Linked DNA regions of Homo sapiens: region 1 is linked to region 2. The links are contacts of gene promoters, found by promoter capture Hi-C in blood cells and fetal thymus (Javierre and others, 2016). All regions are on one chromosome and are shown on one strand. Each heading gives the region's core, a stretch centred on a gene start or on the middle of the fragment in contact. The rest is flanking DNA. Distances are from core to core; before and after follow the strand shown. Region 1 has its middle 98 kb from the start of CPXM2. Region 2 holds the start of HMX3 (H6 family homeobox 3).

Region 1 (4,761 bases), core at 955-3,454, 850 kb before region 2:
CGCCACCGCCCCGGCCCCTCCCCCCGGCTGGCGAACCCGCTGCGCTGCGCGATCCTCGCGCCCCGAGCCTCGCCCGGACGCCCAATGTCTTCATTCTTAATTGCTGCACTTCTTTTTTTTTTTTTTTTTTTTTTTTTTTTGAGATGGAGTCTCGCTCTGTCGCCCAGGCTGGAGTGAAATGGCTGATCTCGGCACACTGCAACCTCCACCTCTCGGAGTCAAGTGATTCTCCTGCCTCAGCCTCCCAAGTAGCTGGGATTACAGGCGTGTGCCACAACGCCCGGCTAATTTTTGTATTTTTAGTAGGACGAGGTTTCACCATGTTGGTCAGGCTGGTCTCAAACTCCTGACCTCAAGTGATCCTCCCGTCTTGGCCTCCCGAAGTGCTGAGATTACAGGCATGAGCCATCATGCCCGGCCTGCACTTCTTAATCGCTCCCTTTCCCCAGTCCCTCAAGCCCATGCTTGTTCACGTATCACAGCCCCTCACCAACCAGTGGCTATGCCTCTTGGAACACGGGGCCCTCTCAGCCCATGCACCAGAAGAGGGAACTACCATTGCCTTAGCTGAGAAGCGACCCATTTAAGTCCACTCACATTTCAGTTGCCAGAACTCGATCTGTGTCCCCATCCAGCTGTGAGACGGCCAGTCTGCCTTGGCCTGGATGGAGAGATGCTGTCAGGAACCTGCGCTGTCTTGCATTTCACTGAGGACTCCTATGAGACTCTGCAAGGAGAAAAACCATATGATCGTCTCAATCAACGTCAACAAAAGGATTTGACTAAAGGTAACATCCCTTCATGATGAAAATCACCAACAAATTAGGTGTGAAAAGGAACATATCTCAACACAATAAAGGACATATATGACAAACCCACAGCTAATATCATATTGAATAAAAAAAAGCTGAAAGCTTTTCCTCTAAAATCTGGAATAAGACAAGGATGCCCACTTTCACCACTTGTATTCAACATAGTACTGGAAGTCCCTGCCACAGCAATTAGGTAAGAGAAAGAAATAGAGAGCATCCAAATTGGAAAGAAAGAAGTCAAATTTTCTCTGTCTGCTGATGACGTGATCTTCTAAAGTCTTCACCAAAAAAACCGTTAGAATTCATAAGTTCATTAAAGTTGCATGGTACAAAATCAACATACAGAAATTAGTACTGTTTCCATACACCAATAGCAAACTATCTGAAAAAGAAATCGAGAAAGCAATCCCTGGGCTGGGTGTGGTGGCTCACGCTTATAATCCCAGCACTTTGGGAGGCTGAGGCAGGAGGATTGCCTGAGGTCAGGAGTTTAAGATCAGCCTGGCCACATGGTGAAACCCGTTTTGTATCTACTAAAAATACAAAAACTAGCTAGGCATGGTGGTGCACACCTGTAATCCCAGCTACTTGGGGGGCTGAGGCAGGAGACTTGCTTGAATGCGGGAGGCAGAGGTTGCAGCGAGGCGAGATAGTGCCTCTCCCCTCCAGCCTGGGCAATAGAGTGAGACTGTGTCTCAAAAACAACAACTACAACAACAAACCAAGAATACATTGAATCAAAGTGGTGAAAGATTTCTACAATGAAAATATAAAATATCAATGAAACGAACTGAAGAGGACACAAATAAATGGAAAGGTATTTTATGTTCATGGGTTAGAAGAATTAATATTGTTAAAATGTTCATACTGCACAAAGTGATCTAGAATTTCAATGCAATCCCGATCAAAAAAATTAACATTCTTCACAAAAATAGAAAAAACAATCCTAAAATATGTACCAAACCATAAAAAAACCCAAATAACCAAAGCAATCTTAAGCAAAAAGAACAGAGCTGGAGGCATTAAACTACCTAACTTCAAGATACACTACAAAGCTATAGTAACCAAAACAACATGATATTAGCATAAAAACAAGACATATAGACTAATGTGAGAGAATGGAGAACCCAGAAATAAATGCAAGCAGTTATAGCCAACTGATTTTTTTTGACAAAGGTGTCAAGAACACACACTGGGAGACAGGACAGCCTCTTTAGTAAATGGTGCTGAGAAAACTAGATATTGACATTCAGAAGAATAAAACTCTACCACTTTCTTTCACCATATTAAAAAAAATCAACTCAAAATGGATTGAAGAGTTAAATGTAAGACCTGAAACTGTAAAACTACTAGAAGAAAACATAGGGGAAATGTTTTAGGACATAGGCCTGGGCAAGGATTTTTTGTTGCCTATGCTCAAAAGCATAGGCAACAAAAGCAAAAATAGACAAATGGTATTATAGCAAACTAAAAAGCATTTGTACAACAAAGGAAACAATCAACAGAGTGAAGAGACAATCTATAGAATAGGAGAAAATATTTGCAAACTATGCATCTGACAAGCGGCTGATATCCAGAATATATAAAGAACTCAACTCACTAGCAAAAAACTAAATAATTGAATTTTAAAATGGGCAAAAGATCTGAACAGATATTTATCTAAAGAATACATAAACATTGCCAACAGGAGTGTAAAAAAATGCTCAACATCACTAATCATGAGGGAAATGCAAATAAAAACCATAATGAGATATTACCTCACCCCAAGTAGAATGGTTATTACCAAAAAGACAAAAAACAAAAGAAATACTGGCAAAGATGTGAAGAAATGGGAACCCTTATGTAATAGTCTGTTCTCACGTGGCTAATAAAGACATACCTGAGACTGAGTAATTTATGAAGGAAAGAGGTTTAATTGACTCACAGTTCCACATGGCTGCAGGGGCCCCACAATCACAGTGAAAGGTAAAAGGGAAGCAAGACATGTCTTACATGGCAGCAGGCATGAAGGCTTGTGCAGGGGAACTGCCCTTTTATACAATCATCAGATCTCACGAGACTTATTCACTGTTATGAGAATAGCATGGGAAAAACCCACTCTCAAGATTCAATTACCTCCCACTGGGCCCCTCCCATGAAACATGGGCATTATTACAATTCAATATGAGACTTGGTTGGGGACACAGAGCCAAACCATATCACCTTATATACTGCTGGTGAGGAATGTAAACTAGCACAGCTGTTATGGAAAACAGTATGGAGGTTCCTCAAAAAATTAAAAATAGAGCTACCGTATGATCCAGCAATCTCACTGCTGGGTATACTGTATATATCTAAAGGAAATGAAGCCAGTATGTCAAAGAGACACCTGCACCTCCATGTTTATTGCAACACCATTCATAATAGTGAAGATATGGAAGCAACCGAAGTGTCCATTAGTGAATGAATGGATAAAGAAAATGAGGTACGCATACACAATGGAATTGTATTCAGCCATAAAAAGAATCGAGTCTTGTTATTTTCTGCAAGATGGATGAACCTGTAGGACATTATGTTAAGTGAAATAAGCCAAGCTCAGAGGTATAAATACCACATGATCTAGCTCACTTGTGGAATCTGAAAAAGCTGATCTCATAGAACTGCAGAGTAGAATAGAAGTTACCAGAGGGTGGAGAAGCTTAGGGGAAGGAGGGGATGAGAAGAGATTGGTCAATGGGTACAAAATTACAGGTAGATAGAAGAAATAAGTTATAGTATTCTATTGCACAGTAGGGTGACTATAGTTAACAATACAAGGGGACTTCAAAAAGTTAGGAAAAAATGGAATTAAAAGATAAAAATTTAAAGCATAAATTTCATTTCTCAACATAAGCTCCATCAACTTCAAGACATTTTTCTAAGAGATGTGATATGGTTTGGATCTGTGTCCCCACCCAAATTTCATGTTCAACTGTAATCCCTAGTGTTGGAGGTGGGTGGGGCCTGGTGGGAGGTGATTGGGTTACGGGGGCACATTTCTCATGAATGTTTTAGCACTACCCCTTGATGCTGTCCTCATGATAGTGAGTTCTTGTGACACCTGGTTGTTTAAAAGTGTGTAGCACCTCCTGCCCACCCCCACCATCCCTCCTGCTCTTGCCATGTAAGACACCTACTCTCACTTTGCCTTCTGCCATGAGTAAAACTTCCCAAGGCCTTCCCAGAAGCAGATGCCGCCATGGTTCCTGTACAGCCTGCCAATTAAACCTCTTTTCTAATAAATAGCAGTTTGACAATGGACTAATACAGGATGATACCAGCCATTTAGTCCGTTCCTGAAGAACTGAGGGTCCTGGGAATTTAACTATGTCAATGTAGTCTTTTTTACATTATTAACTAAAGGAAAATGGGTGCCATTTAAAGATTTTTTAAGATTAAGGCCGGGTGCAGTGGCTCATGCCTGTAATCCCAGCACTTTGGGAGGCCAAGGTGGGCAGATCAGGAGTTGGGGACTAGCCTGGCCAACATGGCAAAAGCTCGTCTCTACCAAAAATACAAAAATTAGCTGGGTGTGGTGGTGCACACCTGTAATCCCAGCTACTTGGGAGGTTGAGGCACGAGAATCGCTTGAACCCAGGAGGCAGAGGTTGCAGTGAGCTGAGATCACGCCACTGCACTCCAACCTGAGTGACAGAGCAAGACTCTTGTCTCAAAAAATAAATAAATGAAATAAAAAATACATTTTTTTTTAAGATTAAGAAACAAAAAGAAGGCAGAAGAAGCCACATCAGGACTGTAAGGTGCATACCTAATGATTTCTCATTGAAACTCTCATAAAAGCCCTTGTTTGACAAGAGGAATGAGCAGGAACATTCTTGTGGTGAAGGATTCTGGTGAAGATTGCCTGGGAGATTTTCTCTTAAAGCTTTGGCTAACTTTTTGAAAACACTCTCATAATAAGCAGATGTTA
Region 2 (4,801 bases), core at 552-3,051:
AAGGAGGCCGGGCGCTCCCTCCCCCACCCCTCTGGGGCCTCAGACCGGCCGTAGCAGCGGCACGGAAGAGACCACCGGGTGCGAGTAGTAGACGGGGTGCGGGAAGGTGAGCAGCGGCTGGCTGACTGGCACCGGGGCCCCCGCGGCTGCAGCCGCCGCGCCCTCGGCCGCCGAGTTCTCGTGGTAGAGGATGGGCACCCGCACGATGCGCTGCGCCGCGGCATGGCTCAGGTTGGCCGCCTCCAGCTCCGCCGCCAGCTGCCGCTTCCACTTGTTGCGGCGGTTCTGGAACCAGATCTTGACCTGCGTCTCGGTGAGGTGCAGGGACGCGGCCAGGCCGGCTCGCTCCGAGCTGCTCAGATAGCGCTTCATGTCGAAGGTGGACTCGAGCTGGAAGACCTGGCTGCGCGAGAAGACTGTGCGCGTCTTCTTCTTGCGGCACGCCGGCTTCTTCTCTGGACTTTCAGCGCCCTTCTTCCAGTCTTCTGCGCCCGGAGTGGCCGCCGCCGCCCCTACGCTCGCCCCGGCCGCGCCTGGCGCCGCTTCGCCTTCCTTTTTGCTTTCCTCGGAGTCGCTCTCCTCCAGAATGATCTCGTCCGGGCTCTTGGAGTCCAGCTCCTTGTGATCGGGGTCGGCCTTGAGCAGTGGCTCCGGAGAGTCGCGGTCTGTGCCGGAGGCGGGGGAGGAGTCTCTCAGCAAGGCCTTCTCCGAGGCTGGGGAGACAGACAGACGGACGCACACACATGCACACCGACACAGCCTTGAGCGAGGCCCGGCGCCTGGGGACGGCAGGCTCAACCCGCGCCGGCCTCCAGGTCCCAGGCCATGAGGCCTCACCATTCCCGCGGGCTGCCTCCTTCTCGGCTGGGCCAGAGAAGGGACGCCGAGTCCTGGGATCCCCCTCCTCCCGAGGACAGGCAAGCAGATGGTGGTAGCGCGGCCACCTCCTTCCATTCCCTCAGCTTCCTCGCCAGGGGCCGGCAGAACGGTTCCCTTTCGGCTTAGGCGCATTGGAATCACCCCCTCCTTCCAGGCCGTGTCCCAAGCCCCGGCCGTCCGAAGCCTCCCTATTCACGCCCGAGGCCACTTTTCCCGGGAAGCACCGTGCCCGGGGCTCCAATTCCACTTCTTTTCTCACCAAGTGGGATTGGATTAACGGGCAGCGCAACCCAGCGCGAGGGCAGGCTAGGGGCCGAAAAAAACTGACCGAGCAGAGGGTTTGCGGGTGCTGGGGTCCCAGAACTGCGGAGGGAAGCAGCGCGGGGCGGGGACGGGGCGGGCGCGCAGGGGGACAACGAAAGTTCAAAGAGAGGTCGGTACCTTCAGGTCGCGGGAGGTGGCCGCCGGCGGGGGTCAGGGTGTAGGGGTACCACCAGGCTGGGGAGCGCTCCAGGTAGTGCGCGGGCAGGGCAAACCTCTGCGCCGGGATCTCAAAGCGAGGGAAAGCCAGGTCGCCCACCTGCGAGAGCGCGAAGCCCGCGGCGCCCTCCAGGGCCCCCTTGGCCGCCGCGGCAGCGGCAGCGGCGGCGGCGGCGGCAGCCGAGGCTGGCGCGAAGAGCGTCCGTGGGGGCGGCTGAGGCTTAGGGGGCGGCCGGTGGTGGTCTCCGTTGAGCAGGTTCTTGATGGAGAACGGGGACTCCTTGGGAGCGGGTGGGGGGGGCGGCGGCGGTTGGGGCTGTGCGCTGGCGGTGCCGGCAGCGTCCGGCCCGGGTTCCGGCATGGTCCCCTCTCCTCCGGGTCCCCGGGAGGGAGGGAGCGGGACAGGCGGGCGGCGGGGCGAGCAGGCGAGAGGCCGGAAATCAGACCATAAACGGAACTCAACTACGGGGCGCAAAGTCGGGGGCCGCCCCGGGCGCAAATCCAACGGCGGGAGGGCGGAGTGAGGACCCAGACGGGCGGGCTCGCATGAGGGAGGGGTGCGGAGGGGCGGGGAGCGGCCCTGCCGCGGCACCGAGGGATCGAGGCGGCTCGGCTGCGGCTGCGGCTCCCGCGGAGGAGGCAGCAAGAGCAGTCCCCGGCTCGAGGCTGCGTCAATCCGGCGCCGGATGCTAATGATGAAATCAAAATGTCATCCAAGTTAAATGCGGGGAGTATACGGCGATTGGGCGCGTACAATGGCAAATGGGATTAGGCAGGCGAAGGCTCAGCCGAGCCCCGGCCCCGCAGCCGCCTCCGCCACCGCCCCCTCCTCGCCTTCCCTCGGATTTTGGCGCTTTGGCTTCGGGCTATAAGAGCCCGCCCGTTATTGGCTTTATATAGTCCAATTAGGCAGCAAATGAGGACAAGCCTATTAGCACAAAAGGATATTGGCTCCCGCTAAAGAGGCACTCGGAGCGCTCCTGCGAGCGCAGGAGGCGAGCGAGGGACGCGGAGCAGGCGGCGCCCTTGGCCGAAGCGCACTAACGGCCGCGAGCCCGGAGACCGCGCCTGCCTCTCCCCCCTGCGGCGCAGGGACCCGCTTCCCGCCGCCAGGCCTGCGGGAGGGGGGAGGGGCGGACCAGGCCCTCCCGGGTCACCTCGGGGTTATCTGCGCTCGCAGCTGCCGCTCCCCCGCCCCCTGGGGCTGGACAGGGGCCCGCCGCCCCCACGCAGCTGGAGAGCCACGCAGCGCCGGCCCAAGAGGCAGGACGTGACCTCGGCCCTCGGAGAACTCATCATTTTCCTACCCTTTGGGGTCCGGCGACCTCGGTATTTTTCCTAAAGCCTGCTAGGAAGGGCGAGGCCAAGAAGAGAGGGATTTGGGTTCCCCACCCACCATCCAGCCGATAGTAAGGGAATCCAGGTGTAAGTCCTCGCACTGCGTCTTCGGACTCAGAAATCCGCGTGGCCTTGGCCTTTAGCCCTGGAAAACCGAAGAGTGAGCCTTCCCCCGGGACCAGGAGTGGGTGTGCCTGTGTGCGTATGCGCGCTGACCCGGCCAAAACCCGCGCGTCACTCGGTGGGGCTGCTGGGGCAACAGCTTCTCGGCACCGACGGCTGCTCTCGGAAGGGCACCCCTCTGCTCTGGCCGCCGGTGCCCAAGGCTCGCGGATCAACTCCGAGTCTGTGACCCCGACGACAGCACTTTCTCCCAGGAAGTCTCTCCGGCCAGCTGGCGTTTGGAGCTGTCTAACTAACGCTTTAATGGGGGCAAGGTGAACCGAAGGCGCAGCGGCGTAGCTTCCTCCGCCGCGGCAAGCAGCGGCATCCGCTGCGCGTCTCGACGGCAGCGAAGTCCTTAGAGAACCACACTGGACCTTTGCAGAACGGCTTAGTGAAAGGACATTCCACTCCACTGGCTTTAAAAACAGCTCCCCGGTTCGCACGAGAAGCCCATGAGGCAGACATTTAAGACTCATGATTTAAGCATCAAGTAAATCAGAATTGTTTGTGAGGTCCCCTCCCGAGAGACAGCTTTCTTATCAGAGAAAGGTGACAAACTGGCCTCACCCTCTTCCACCCTGGTGAAGCTCCCGCACACGAGGGCTTTTTGGGATCCCTTCACCTCCCCACCGCTTTCTTTTTCGTTAGATTGAGCCTCGCCTAATTCAAGGCCGCCCTGCATTGGCAGACGTGATCGTGTGGGGTCCCCACTTGAGAGGTAGATTTTGTTTTTCGGTCCTGGGGCGTCAGACCCTCCCCCACCAAATCTCGACGGGCATATGTAATGTTTCTTTCTGCATTCATCTACAGCAGCGAACCCCATTTTTGCTTTGGAAATCTGGAAACGTAAATGGCGCTTCCATAAACAATTACTGTTATTACTCCCTTGAGTTTACACAGGGCTTTACTGGAATGCAAAACGCTACGCCATCCAAAATCTGGGTTGGAACGGATCACTGCCCTGAGACCCCAGCAGGGTGGGTCTCATACTTGGATTTTGTAAGTGGAAACCCGCGCCCAGAGAGGAGGAAACTGGGCCTAGGTCGCCCAATCGCTGCTGGATACCCAGAGGTCATTTTCCCCCAACCGCAGAAATAGCTCGATGCACGTAGGTCTATGAGGGTTGGGTGGGCACCGCCTGCACACAGCCTGCCACGCGGCCGAGTATGCGTGGAGAGACCCCGGCGTGTATGCCTGTGTGTTTTGGGAGCTTCGCCATTCAGCGCAGACGCATGCAAACTTGGCTAGAGTTCTGACGCACGAAAGTCGACTTTAAACTGGGAATGCTGAGGGTTCAGTCTGGGGAGGGGGACTCGTGGCTGATCACAACTCCAGCGCTAGACTCAGATGGGGAGGGGACAGGCCCAGTGTGGCGGGAGAAGAGTCCGGGACAGCCGCCCGCATCCCTGCTGTGCGGCTACCGGATCCCGGCTTTCCGGTTGTCGCCCCAAGTTCTCCGGTTGACTCCCCTCCCAGGGGCGCGCAGGGGCGCTGTTATGTGCTTGTGTTTGGCCCGGGAGAGGAGCTTCTCCAGTGTCAGCACTCTCAGCCCATCCTCTCAGTTTTAGGGATTGCTGGGCTTGAAAAGCGGGATGTATTGAGTAGATCTTTCCCTTCCCCTTCGAGAAAGCTGGTGGGAGTCGGGTCTGGGCGCGGACTCAGCCCTTTACTCGCCGTCTGGCGAGAGGTGTTGCCAGCGTTCTTGCGCTCACGACTCCATTCAAAGTCAGGCAGACAGCGCCCTCTATGGGACAGCCTCTGAACCAAGCCTGCAGGTTCCGCTGGAGAAACCGCTGTCCCGGCGCAGGACGTTTAAAAGCCATTGAGGTCTCGCCCTTCGCCGCCGCAGTTAGAAAACAAAAGCATTTTTTCTCTGGATCCCGGGAGAAGAAGTGGGTGAAATCGCCTTCAGATCTCTGCTGATCTCTACCTGGCCACG

What was found. Contacts are between HindIII fragments. The CHiCAGO score rates a contact against its expected background, and 5 or more counts as called.
Region 1: a fragment that was not itself captured here is called in contact with the fragment with the promoter of HMX3 in region 2 in 1 of 17 cell types (M1 macrophages); the score reaches 5.2 in M1 macrophages.

What each region holds. Positions count from the first base shown.
Region 1 is chr10:123,986,936-123,991,696 of GRCh38, reverse strand. It overlaps the pseudogene YBX2P1. Among named protein-coding and RNA genes, the nearest start is that of CPXM2, 98 kb to the right of the region's middle. The HindIII fragment of the contact is 2,575 bases long and covers 917-3,491 here.
Region 2 is chr10:123,132,970-123,137,770 of GRCh38, reverse strand. It overlaps HMX3 (H6 family homeobox 3), which reads right to left and starts at 1,801. Exons shown (of 2, transcript NM_001105574.2): 1 at 1,321-1,801; 2 at 1-713. The coding sequence starts at 1,720. The coding sequence ends at 40. RefSeq lists enhancers at 1-453, 1,636-2,586, 4,464-4,758 and silencers at 1,373-1,422, 1,433-1,842, 1,893-1,972, 2,353-2,482, 2,513-2,632 and 1 more. The HindIII fragment of the contact is 8,924 bases long and covers 1-4,801 here.